2 separate regions of the Homo sapiens genome follow, and region 1 is linked to region 2. Evidence: promoter capture Hi-C in human tissues and cell types (Jung and others, 2019). All regions are on one chromosome and are shown on one strand. Each heading gives the region's core, a stretch centred on a gene start or on the middle of the fragment in contact. The rest is flanking DNA. Distances are from core to core; before and after follow the strand shown. Region 1 overlaps SHROOM4 (shroom family member 4). Region 2 holds the start of SHROOM4 (shroom family member 4).

Region 1 (6,482 bases), core at 2,483-4,982, 43 kb before region 2:
GGCAGCTGTTTGAAAAATCTCAAAGGCTTCTTTTTTCTTTTTAAACTTATTACCAGAGTCCAGGCTGTTCTCTGAGCTTCAGGATAAGTGGGGTATTGCTAAAAAAAATGGTTTTGCTTTAATTACAGGCTCTTAGTAAAACTGTTTGCCTTTCATGAACGCTATGTATTGAGCAAAACTCCTCTAGTCCATAATAGAAATATTTTCATATGGAAACATGGAAACACCTTTGATCAAGAAAGATAGCCTTAAACTTTATAAATTATAAGTTCTGTGAATAGAATTGGCCATGTTGTGATTAAAAAGAAATCTGGGGACAAGTAATAACAAATACATCTATTAGAGTCATGGTAATATGCCTACTGTCAACTAAAATACATTTCTTAAAACTGAGGTCTTTTTGGTTCATTACAGCTTATTACTGCTTCATAATAATAATGTGCTTGAATCTCACAAATATGTGAAAATTACACAGTCATAATTCTCATCAAGGACTCAATCTCAAACTTACTTTTTAAAAACAAAATGTTGGTTCTAAGTTGGAGGTTTTACTTAAGGCCATACATGATTAGCCTTCAAAAATGAAATCAAAGTAGTCCCCAGATATAGAGGCTAATATAAACATATTAGAGCCTTTTTGTGAAAGACTTGGATACCATTCCTACCAAAGAAGTCAGTGGACACATTAAAAGCATTTCAAAATAAATAGAAATAAGAACATTCTGGGTGGGTAAAGCGATTGCTGGCAATGTTAAAAGAGAAGGATACCTTCATTTTGAGCCACACAACCAACAAAACAAAACACTCAGAAGAAATTTAAGCTTTGAAAACTTGGCTGTGATGAGAAGAAGATATAAAAAGTGAAGAATTTCCCACCTTAGGTCTATTCCCTGGATGGGGCTAAGGGCGTTAAGTCTGCTTGTATGATGTTGGAAACAATAATCCTTATAGTTCTGAAAGAAATCACTAAATGGGAGCCATCCTTCGAGTTTGGTCATTCTGTAAATTGCTTTATTTCTTATATGTAAAACCTGTATTCAGGAATCTGTAAATCTTTTCCCCCACCTATGAACGTGAGCTGCTTAGTGCTTTTGTCAGCAACAAATAGTGTATACATTATTAATTCAACTTTAATGGGTCCAAAGATTACATATGCTGAGCATCTAAAGTAAAAATATAATGCAGGTTGATAGGCAGGAAAGGAAAGAGGAACTCATGGAACCTCAGAAGCAAAACCTAGTTTCAGAATCCAGATCTGCTGAGGTCTGGCATCAACAGTCTTGTATACATTTATAGGAATTAGGTTGGCAGGTTGATAGATTTCTCATTACCAAGGTTGGGTTTCTTGAACTCTCAGGAAACTAGAAGAGAATATTTGGAAAACAATCATGCCAGCAGCAGGCCAGGAGGGTGAGACTTGAAGGAGATGTTGGCTGAGCCATTTCCTGAGCAGATCCGAAGGAAATGATTTCAATTATTGTCACACAATGGGCCAGATGCTCCCTCTTGCCCTATTCTAACTATTCTCCCAGCTCCAAAACAAAGAGGAAAGGAAGGAGGGGAAAAAAAGAGGAAAGGAAGGGGAGAGGAGGAAGGGAATGAAGGAGTGAAGAAAGGGAGGGAGGGAAGAAAGGGGAAGGAGGGAGGGAGGAAGGAAAGAAGGAAAAAAAGGAAAGAAAGGGAAAAAGAAAAGCATTACAATTAAAGCAAGAATTAACAGCTGTAATAAATATAAAGGTTACTTTTGCATAAAATGAAAATAGAAAAGGTCAGTTCAGGAAATGTTAACACACTGGCTCAGTTTCTCTCAGTTCATAGGCCTGAATCATTAGGCGTCGCAGGCCCAATAGGACCACAGCTTTGTTGCTTGAGCTTTTATGAGGCATATCTGTGCTGGTGGCAGCTAGCAGACTGGCAGGGCTACAAACTGGCATGCCCTCAGGTCATAAACTAATTATGGCACAATCATTCACTTGTTCTAGCCATTCTGCCAATTACTTCATGAGTAGGGTTGGGCGGGACCTTTGTCTAAGGCCTGCTCTGGAAACAAGACCTCCTGGGCTTAAGCCTTCCTTCCTGTGGAGTTCTGTGGGAGTCTGTAGGGCCATCAATAGTCTCAGTAGGCCAACCAGTCTACCCTTCTGCCTTAATAATCCACTCACCAATTATTAAGTGTCTGTGTTGTACAAGGCCCAGTGAGGAAATGCAAAAATAACAACGTACTCTTGAAGGGCTTAGAGTCTAGGGTTAGGGTGGGGAACATAAGAACCATTCAAAACCTCTGCTTAAGCCCACTTGCATATCTCAAGCCCTGGACTTTCCTGAACAGAAGGGCCCTTTTGAATCTAGACACTGCATTAGTCATCTGAGTTCATTCCACATGTTCTCGGGGGGAATAAAAAGAAGATGTTTACTTCCAGAGTCAGTGTAAGCTTCCATCTTTTTCCCAATGATGGTGGATAAGCTTCCCTGTTCTCCAGAGTCATAATTCAATTAAGGTCTTACCAAAGCCTTCCTGTCCAAGAGAAGGGTCAATCACTCTTCCAGCACAGCAACTCCCCTGCCCCAAGGACTACCCCCACTGCACTCAATTGAAGTGCCTGACTAGGTACACTCAGAGGAGATACATCCCTTTATATAAAAGAGCCACAGACTTACAAATAGCCTCGGGGAGCCAGCATGCATTCCAAGAAATACATGTAAACACATGAAAAGGTATGTACACAGGTTTGCTTACAAACAAAGTCAGAAGAAAAGTAAACAGATTGGGAGGGGGAAATTTCACAGCTCAGTGAGCTGAAGACCTGGATAGAAAGGTGAATGAATAAGTCCAACATACTGTGTTTCAAGGCAGCAGCATACATACACAGTCAGCAGTGACAACTGGTTTGCTGGGACAGGAAAGAATGGATTTGCAGAGAGAATTCAGGAAACAGTTTGAGGATCAATAGGCCCCATCAGTATGCCAGTGATTTCATACTAATGCAGTCAAGGTCCCAGAGTAAATTATTTCCATGCTTATTACTGCTTATGGCAAACATCACCCAATTCAGACTTAGAGGTTCAAATAGCCCTAGCTCCCTGACAGACATCATTGAAAACATTCCTGCAAGGAGCACCCTTTGTAAGGTGGAGCCTGGCCAAGTACCAGGCGTCTGCTCCTCTCCATGGTCACATAGTCTCCTGCTGCCTTCCACCCTCATACAGGCCCCCAGTCTGTTTGCATTCCCACACCTGGCCCCACCTTCTAGCAGAGGCCAAGAGCATCATTCTTGGATGAATGCCCAGCCTTTGAAGTCAGAGAGAATGCAGGCTGTTAGATGAGGAGATCCAGATTCAAGACTTCTCAACACACACTTCCCCCTACTCAACAATGCTTACAATAAAGTTACGCTCAAGAGGCACTCTGGCTGCTAGAAAAACAGGAAGCCAGAGGAGTGGGTAGGTCAGTTAGGCTCTCTAGACTGGCCTGAACTCTGTGGAATGTCAGGCTCACTAGAAAGCTGAATGCCTCCACTGAAGGTGTGACCAAGGTATCTTTAAGCTGGAACTGACCAACCACCCCTGTCTTAGTAAAAAGGTATTTCTCCCCAAATCTGCCTTCCCCACCCTCCCTTCACACACAAAGAAAGTAGCCAGGCCTTCAGTCTTGGTTCTCTAGAGCGCAGCAGAACAACTCAGGCAGAAGCAGCTTGGGAGACCTTGTGCTTCTCTATTCGAGTGCTTTCCTAAACTGTGTGGTTGGCAAAAAACAGATCTGAACATTTGGCTGGAAGCAGCCATGTTTAAAAACAATTGTTTAATTTCAAGATTGCAAGAACCTTTCTTCATTTTGGCAGTTTGGGAGAGGGAGTGGAAATGTAGATCCATTAGAATAAACAGTAACCATCCATTTGTGTGTATCTGTTCATCTAGGTGTATTCATGGAAATCTGGGAGAAATTAAGCCTTCTGCCTTCTTCTAGCCCATAAGGTCATTGGTCTGCCACGCCTCCTGCAATAACAGTTGCAATGCAATAACTCATACTTACATAGCACTTGACAGTTTACACAGCATCCTCCCATTCATTATGCCATTTAATAAAGATTAATCCATTATGTGGTGTGACTAATTCCCTTTGACCTAACAATTCTGCTTTTTCTATAAATATCTCTTAGTAAAATAATCAGATAAGTGTGCAAAGGTGTACGTACACAAATGGCCACTGTTGCACTGTTTATATTAGCAAAATGTTAGGAGCAAATTAAATGTCAATTAATATGGTACTGGTGAAAATACCTGTAGTATTTATATAGTCATAAAGTGTAATACAGTGATACCATTAAAGTGATTCTGTAGATCTGAAAAGATTTCTGCAACGTATTGTTAGTTGTAAAAACATAGGCTAGAAAACATTACATATAATATGACCTTGTTTTTTATGTGTGTGTGTGTGTGTGTGTGTGTGTGTGTATAAACATGGAAGAATGAAGTGTGAGATATGCATACACCTAAATATCAATGCCTGTTACCTCTAGGAGGTAGGAATGTGGCTAATTTTAATTTTCTTCTTTAAACTTCTGTGTATTTTCTAAGTTAATATTAAATCAACAAACATTATTGCTTTTGATGATGTGGAAAACAATAAAGCTACGGTCATTTTGGAAAGGAGAGAAAACATGTGGTAACAACAATAATAGTAGCTAACATTTACTGAGCAGTTACTATGTACCTTGGTTTTAAGTACACTTATATTTTGATCTCATAACAGTACTTATGAGGTATGTAATACTGTCCCCATATTAGAGATGAGAAAACACTGAAGCTTAGAGAGTTTAAGGGACTTCCCAAGGACACACAGCTAGAAAGTGACAAAACTAGGATGTAAACTGAGGTTTCTGTTGACTCCAAATCTCATTCTCTTATTTGATGCTCTACCACCTTCCTCTTCTAGGGCCCTTTCTCCCTTGAAGTGCTCAAAACAATGTATCAAAGCCAGTTATTATACTTTTGATTACTTACGCCAGAAAGACCCCATTAAGAGCATAACTGTTTCTAGCTCAGAGCAAGGTTTCAAGGAAGCAGCACTATTAGAGCCTGATGCCAAAACCCAGGTGACCAAAATCAGCAATAGCTCAAATTGAACCTTCATCCCTTAAATCTCACAAATGCAAAGACAGTCTTTGTTTGATTCAAACGTTTTCTTCCTCCATCCATCCATCCATTCCTTCATTGAATACCTATCATATGCTAGGAACTGTGGGCATACAAAGATGAATAAGGCAGACTCCCTGCCTTCAGATAATGTGCAATCTGATCCTTAGTGCATCACAGGCCCATTCACCTGAGAGGCTTACTTGAGAACAAACTCCAAGTTGAAATGTGACCAATGACCAAGGGGCCACAGCAGGAAACTTGGGAAGACAGAAAACAGGTTGCCAAATTCTTCTTTACTACACTTACAAAGAATATGGAAAGTAAACATATAGATCCAATTAACCAAATCTAGCAAACATTATTGAGCAATGACTATGTACCAGGCTCTGTGTTAGGTGCTGTCACATATCTTATGAGTACTACTATTACTACTATTCATACTACCATTACGAAAAATAACAACTAACATTTTATTAAATCCTCACTGGTAGTGACAGAAACCAGGCTAAGTGCTTTACATACAATGTAAGTTTTCACGACCACAAACCTATTAACATGGCTTAAGGTTGAGGCCTACCTAATATGAAATCAAAATGAAACAAATCAACAAACAAAGCATCTAGAATTCTCCACTGTTCCCTTATTCACCATGAGGTCATCTTAGAGCTAGAATGGTTTGAATATTCAGACACCTACATAAATACTTCCCATTTGTTCATTTCTCTAGTTCAGCTCACAGGTTAACAAACTTAGAGAATTACTGTATAGACTTCTATGCACAACAGATACAGTACTGTACTGCAATACAAAAGATTTCCAGGAAGAGTTTCAACGATTCATGATTTTTGTCTTATGTGCTAATTTTAGTACATGACTTAGAGAATACATGAGATAATAATGATGCTATAAATAGCATATGACCAGTAAATTATAAATGATGCCTTAATATACTAATCTCAACAATAATCATATCAGAGAAATACCCATTGTACAGGTAAGGAAACAAGTTCACAGAGGTTTGTCCCCCATTGCTTCAGTGTGAAAAAGCCAAGGTTTAAACTATGTCTGACTGACACTAAAGCCTATGCTTCTTGCACAGCTTTATGAAAGGCACTTTCTTTTTGGCAAATGAATTATGTTTGAGCTAAAAGCAATGACCAGGGTACCATCGGTGAGATAGATCAGAGGAGATGAACATGAAGGCAGATCCAAAGAAGAGTGATGAACAGAAAAATGACATTATCAAACATGGGCTTTGGAAAAATTAACCTGATGATGGTGACACCTTTTCCCTGAGGCAATGTCATCTCTCTTTTGAGGTTGAATACAGGCAAGAAGGGCTAGCC
Region 2 (6,746 bases), core at 2,162-4,661:
ATTGACTCTCAGTATGATAGACATAGGTAAGCCACTGAATACATCAGTCTCGGGTTTTCCATCAGTTTCTCCACAATCTTTCCTGACTGCCTCACAGTGTAGCTGCAAGAGAGTAATGAAATAAAGGATGAGGAAGCACATTGTAAATAGTAACACTGTATGCAAATGAAGCAAAGCTTCATTTTCCTCACTCTGCAGCAACACTTCTGAGAAGAGAGCCAGAGCTAGCATAAAAGATTAGCTATTTGGCCAGGAGTGGTGGCTCACGCCTGTAATCCCAGCACTTTGGGAGGCTGAGGCAGGCAGATTGTTTGAAGGAGTTGGAGACCAGTTTGGGCAACATGGTGAAATACAAAAATACAAAAATACAAAAAATCAGCCAAGCATGGTAGCGTGTGCCTGTAGTCCCAGCTACTTGGGAGGCTGAGGTGGGAGGGTTGCTTGAGCCTGGGAGGCACAGGATGCAGTGAGCCGAGCTGGCACCACTGTACTCCAGCCTGAGCAACAGAGTGAGACCCTGTCTCAAAAACAAACAAACAAAAACATGGCTACTAGATTGTCATAGTATCATTTAAAGACCACCCACTTGAATGTCATTTTAGATATGGGGATGCCTAGACCCAGGTAGGGCAAGTGATATACCTAGGATTCCAGAACTAGAGAGTGGCAGAAAAAGGATTAGAACCCAAGTTTTTAATCTGCCAACCCAATTATCTTTCTATTACCTTCCACCCATCCCAACCAGTGTGTACAGACTAAGAAGGCTGTTTTCAAGGAGAAAGCTGTATTGTTCTGAATCATAAAAGGAAATAAAATCAAGGTTGAAAAATGAAGAGGGAATTAATGAAATATGCCAAAACAGTGTCTTGTCAAGAAAAACACAATACAGGCAATCATTGTGCTTAAAAAAATACTATGGTCCCTTTATATACCGTTGAAGCCAACCCAGTTATAACTGACTTTTACTGTTAAGAACTAGGCTATTTGGGAGGAATGGGAGAAATAATTTTATCCCTTGCATATCTAAATGCATGTCATAATGAGCCTTCATATAATAGGGGTCAACTGTACATTCAGTGGAAAGGGAATCATTAAAAGGCACCCTGCCTCTCAACACACGAAGCACTTCCTCTACAGCTTGGCCAAGGAAACCCTCATCTACCCTCTCAAATAATCCCCCAGCCAGACCACAAATTGCTGGCTGCCCCATACTTAGTAACACCCCCTGCCATGCTCTCACTGGCTCACAAAATAATCCGGGACCACAGCAGCAAGCACTCTCTGGGGTGCTTCTCAAGATGGGTCAGCTCTGGGCAGAGCTGAAAAATGACCTCTCCAAGGCAGGTTGTCTAGGCAGACTGTGGAAATTCTGTGGGCGGTGTGAGGAGAAAAAGAAAGGGAGGAACTGCCAGATCATGGAGGGCTGCATATCCCATTGTGACCTTGGTGGAAAGAGTGGGGAGAGGAGGAGCTTGATTAGAAGAAATTCCTGAAGGCCAGGATTCCCCTCACCAAAGGAGTTGAGTGTTTTTGTTAAAAAAAAAAAAAAAAAAAAAAAGCATATAACTTTCTCCAGAGAACACTGGAGGGAGACTGCCTCAGGAGGGGTTGTGACAGTGGATGACAAACGCATCTCAGGCTGGTTAAAGTACATGACAAGTATGGGGGAAAGGGTGCTGGATGAAGATCTGGGCTAGTTTGGGGAGGCTAATGATCAGAGGGGTCCCTGCCAGCCCCTCAAAATGTTGCCTCAGCATACCTCAGACTCCTCAATCTGATTGGTACACCCATGGCAACACTCCAGGGTTGCTAAGAGTGTGGGCCCCAAGGCCTGAAGGATCCCATACACTGGAAGTCAACCACAGGCTCCAATGCAAGGCGAATGCCGCACAGGTTATTGTGGGTGTGTGTTGCGGTGGACGTTTGCTGAACCCTCTGCTGAGATGTGACCAATGTTGAACCCCACCCCCCCGCAAAAAAAAAGTGATATTTGCTCCCTGCTGAAAAGACACATCTTTCTATCTCCAGCCTGAACCCACATCTACAACTTCAACTGCCATTTAAGCGGGTTGGAAGCGGGAGGGCTTTTCGGATTTGAGGATTTAAGAGAAACAACAAAAAAGTGGAATAAAGTTCGTAAAGTCCGTTCACTTGGCAATCTGGCACCTCAAGGTGAGTCGTCCCACAAGTCACTCTTCCTGGTAACAGCTCCAGCTGCCCCTACCCCTCGCCCTCACCCCTACGGGGGAGGCTCGCTTTGGGGGTTCTGGAGCACTCAGGAGAGCTCCTCTCTCCTGTCCTCAGCTGCAACTTGGCTTCCAGCAGATCACAGACTCCTAAAACAAACAAACCCTGGCGGCGGCGGCGGCGGCGGCAGTGGCGGCGGCGGCGGCGGCGGCGGCGGCAGCGGCAGCAGCAACAGCAGTAGCTCCAGCACAGCTGCGCTCCATGGCGCAAGTTTCCTCCACACTTCTCAACGTGCAGGAAATCTCGCCGGCGCTGGGGCAGGACTCTGGAGGGAGGGAGAGGCCGAGCCGAACCGGCGGCAACAACGCCCCAAGAGCTGAATGGATGTGTGCGCGTCCGGCCGTGGGAAGTGTGGCTGGCAAAAGCCACCAATGGCCTCATCTCCGTTCCCACACCAGCCCCTAGCCCTGCAACCTGCCTGGGAGGGACGGCCCGCCGGTCGATAGAGGGGACAACGCTGCCAAGAGAGCTGCCAAGCCGCGATGACTGTCCCTTCAGTCCTTCACTGTCCCGCAGGGACGCAGAGGCCTCCAAGGAGAAATCCCCAACAGCCTCCACTTCCTTCGGCCCAAACTGAGGGAAGTAGCCGCCCCGACGTGGGGCAGCAAGGGCTGCCCCAGCGCCCTCGCGAGTGTGTCTGCGCGCAAGGTTCTAGCCGGGGGCCAGTTGTGCTCCCAGCTCGTGTTCCAGCCACCCTTAGGGGATGTCTGCACCTGGACTGGTGGCAAGACCCCTCCGTGCCGCTCAGAGGGTCTTTCGCTCCCAGCCCTAAGTTTCAAAGTTGGCCTGAGGGCCCCGTCCAGCGGCAGCCTTCGCACCCGCTTGTCCATTCAAAGTTAGGCGCCGTTAGGACATCAGCCGCCAGTTCTTACCTTAGACACTGTGAGCGGCTCACAGTGTTCCAGACCCCCCTTAAGGGTGAAGCCCCAGGGTGCCCCCCCTTGCAGCTGCACAGGGACGTACTGGAAGGACCCAGGCCGGTTCTCCATCCTCGGCTGGGCTCAGGCGCCGCCGGGCTCCTTTTCCGAGGGGGCTACGTTGCCTCCGCCCCCAGCAGCTCCGCCACCATCGCCCTCCAGCTCTACGCCACCCCGCACCGCCCTGCTCCGCCTACTCTCCCGGCTGGAGACGCTCAGGCAGCGAGCGAGCGCAAGGAGGAAATGACACGGAGCTGGAGAAAGGGGGAGAGAGGGGGGAAAAGGAGAAGGGAAAAAAAGAAAAGAAAAGAAAGAAGGAGAGGCGGAGGGATAGCGCGTAATGGACAAGAAAACGGAGCAATGGGGAGGGGCAGTCACTGGGACCTCGCCTATAGGATCGCTGGGGAGTGGGAGCGAGGCGAGGCCTCACATCAATTGTTACATTGTTTCATTCAAGCAGGGCCCCTCTTTGGTCCTCCTCTTTACTGCCGGGTTCCCCGCCCCTCCAGCCAGCCCAGGCGAGGGGAGGTGAAAGTCGTTAGTGTGGACGGCCCGCGTGGCTGAGTGGGCTGAAACGCTGGTTTCCTGATTAGCGCGTTCATGTTTCTCTGACTGCCTTTTTCTTCTGAAGGTCCCGAGAACGGAGACCTGGGAGGGTTAAAAGGCTGCTAATTTGTGGACCTTGCCTAGAGGGGTGGAAAGCAAAGCCAGCAGGCCAGCGGACATAGTGAGGCTGTGTGTGTAGACTGCTCTGTGTGTACGCGCTAGGTGTGTGGGGTCATTATGAAACATTGCCCCAGAGCATAGTTTAAATAAAGAAGCACTTTGAGGATGCCCCCTGCTCGGGCTCCCCCGCACCCTGGCTCAGTGTTGGTGTCTATGGCTAGCACTGTGCTTGTGTATGTTCCAGTCATCTGGAGTTCCTGGCACGGCCTTGCACTTGCCCCACCGAGATGAGCAAGCCAGCAATCAGCAAACTTTATGACTAGCAGTATTGTCTCTAAACAAACCTACAGGAAAGAGCATCCATTGATAAGCTGGCCAATTAATAATGTTGTGCCTTTGGGAAGAATCAGCTTTTAGACTGGGTCCAGAACATCTCTGCACATCTGTTCAAGCTTGACCTTGTAGTTTCTGAGCTGGGCTTTTGTAATAGACCAAACAGCCACAATAATAGTCCTGAAAAGCGAATTTGTTACTGAATCTTGTGCTGATTTCTCTGCCTTCACTTGGACAGGTTATCTTCTCTCTTTGAGGTGTTTTCTCTGGAGCCACATGCGGGCAGTGAATTTTTAAAGGGCCTCGCACTAGCGGAGAAAGTGTTGACAACTCAGTTGTGACTCAACAGGATGTTCCCACTCTGTCTCGCCTGTTCAGTTTCTTCCCCTGTTCTTGTGCAGCTTCTTCTTCATGGCCAACAAACACACTGCGGCCCCTTCCTTCACAGCCAGCTTTCTGCGGTCAAGGTTTCCACTCTCTACTTCTACTTCCTCACCTGTCACTGCCTCTTCAACGCACAGCAGCCTGCGGTGTGCTGCAGCAGGCCACTGAAATGTCTCTCAAAGTCACCCCCCTCCATCAATCCTTTTTTCTTAGCACCCCCCTGGACTGTCTGCATATATGATGCTGCCCTGACTTTTCTTTAATAAAATGGCAATTTAGGTGTTTATAGCCTGCCTTTTTAAAGTCCTTAGAGATGATGCACATGGGAAACCATCCTCGATCTTTTAGGCCTACAAACACCGTCTTGATCATGTTTATTGTTTTATATTTTCCTTATTTGAAAGCAGAAAATTTGATAAAATGGCAACTCAACTTGTTGATTCTTACTTGTGTTAACCTATGTTATAACATTCATTTGCCCTGCCCCACCTTGAAACTCAGCATTTTTTTTCTTTTTCGGATAATATTTCTATGATTGTAACTTGGTAGAATCCAGCGTGTTTCAGTCCCAGCATATCTGTAAAGTTCAGTTCACAGGATATATAGTCATCACTCAAGGACTATTAGAATTATGTGTCTAGACTAGAGGAAAGACGTTTGGAAGCAGTAGACACACATCTGAGCCCTGGCCTTGTCACTAACTAGATGGGTGACCTTGGGCAAATCACTGAGCTAACTCTTTTCAGTCTCCTGTTCTTCCTCTGTAAACTTTAGCTAATAAGCCCTGACTTTCCTACCTCCCAGGACTGTTGAGAGACTAAGATGAAATAATACATATGAAAACACTTTGGTAAGGAAAAAGTAAAAATCCTCTCACAACCTTATTATGAAAGCAAGCACTGAGCTAGTCTTTAACTAACCTATTTTCATTCCAAGCCTTACTCTACAATGATGTCTTGTTGCACTCTTCAGTTTATCCTTTTCATCATTACAGCAGAACATAAATTACCTAGCCCCTTGTACAAACAGTGCATAAGTAGTAGATATTCTGAACATAAGGTGGCTAGATTATCTTGCTTCTTTATTGATAAAAATCAGTGCTGCTAGCAGGCATCTCATTCTTCTTTGGAAGTATACAGTTAGTGGTAGCATGACTGCATAGTGGAAAGGGTACAGGGTAGAACTTGAGATGCCTAGATTCTAAGCTAGTTCTGCCATTAATTCACTGTGGATATTAAGCATGTCACCCCCACTCTCTGTAAGTTGAAGGGGTTGAGCGACTTGATTTCTTAAGTTCCTCTACAGTTTACAAATTCTGTGACTACTTCCTGGCAAGTGCCTGAACGTAGTATATGTGCAAACAAAATCTTGATAGAGTTGAACCAAGTAAAAAGAAAGCAATGGAGAACATTCGAGGGGTATATTACTCTGTGTGTGTGTGTGTGTGTGTGTGTGTGTGTGTGTGTAAAGTGCATGCACACGCTGGAGCTATCAGACAGATGATAAATTCATTCTAAAGTATGTTAAATTGCCTGTGGGGAAAAGGTGGAAAGTCCACTAGGCAGGTAGAAATAGGAAACTGCATATCAAGGAAGGGGTGGTGATTGATAATACACACTTGGATGATAACTGAAGCCATTATTTGCAGTATATAATCTCACTCAGAGAAATTAGAATCTCACCCAGAAAGTAGAATCCTGGATTATGCTAATATTTAAAATATGCTAATATTCAAAAGTCAGGAAGGATAACAAAAGACCCACAAGGGAGTAGACACAGGAGGTGGGCAAAAGGCCAACCAGGGAGAGATAAATTAAAACCAGGCTAGGTACTTCCACCTCATTAAACATTCCTCTCAGGAGTCTTGTATTCATTCAAAAGCTATTGAGAAGTTTACATTTTTGGAAGAAGGAAGACTGAAATAGCAGTCCTTCTCTGAGCTTTTTTTTTTTAAAACTTCCTTAGCTGAACCTTTTTTCTAAACTCAAATTTGAATACAATTTTCCTCATCGCAGTGCCTGTAGCTTTTTTGTTTTTGTTATCATTTTTAAAAATTTTATTTTTCCCTCCCCTGTGGGATCTAATCTAACTCCTTTTTGAATGAGGAACCTCTTGAGATTCTAGAGAAACCTATGCACTCTCTCCCCCTGAAAGCTACACATGTTCACACAATGCTATATATAGTTTGGGCTGAGATTA

Evidence for each region. The method cuts DNA at HindIII sites, captures the fragments that hold promoters and counts their contacts. A contact is called where the count stands out against the background at its distance.
Region 1: a contact is called between a fragment that was not itself captured here and the fragment with the promoter of SHROOM4 in region 2, in 1 of the 25 tissues and cell types used here (hippocampus).

The regions. Positions count from the first base shown.
Region 1 is chrX:50,767,588-50,774,069 of GRCh38, forward strand. All of the region lies in intron 1 of SHROOM4 (shroom family member 4), which reads right to left. Among named protein-coding and RNA genes, the nearest start is that of SHROOM4, 43 kb to the right of the region's middle. The HindIII fragment of the contact is 4,213 bases long and covers 1,627-5,839 here.
Region 2 is chrX:50,810,783-50,817,528 of GRCh38, forward strand. It overlaps SHROOM4 (shroom family member 4), which reads right to left and starts at 3,412. Exons shown (of 9, transcript NM_020717.5): 1 at 3,120-3,412. The coding sequence starts at 3,236. RefSeq lists an enhancer at 2,459-2,960. The HindIII fragment of the contact is 10,300 bases long and covers 1-6,746 here.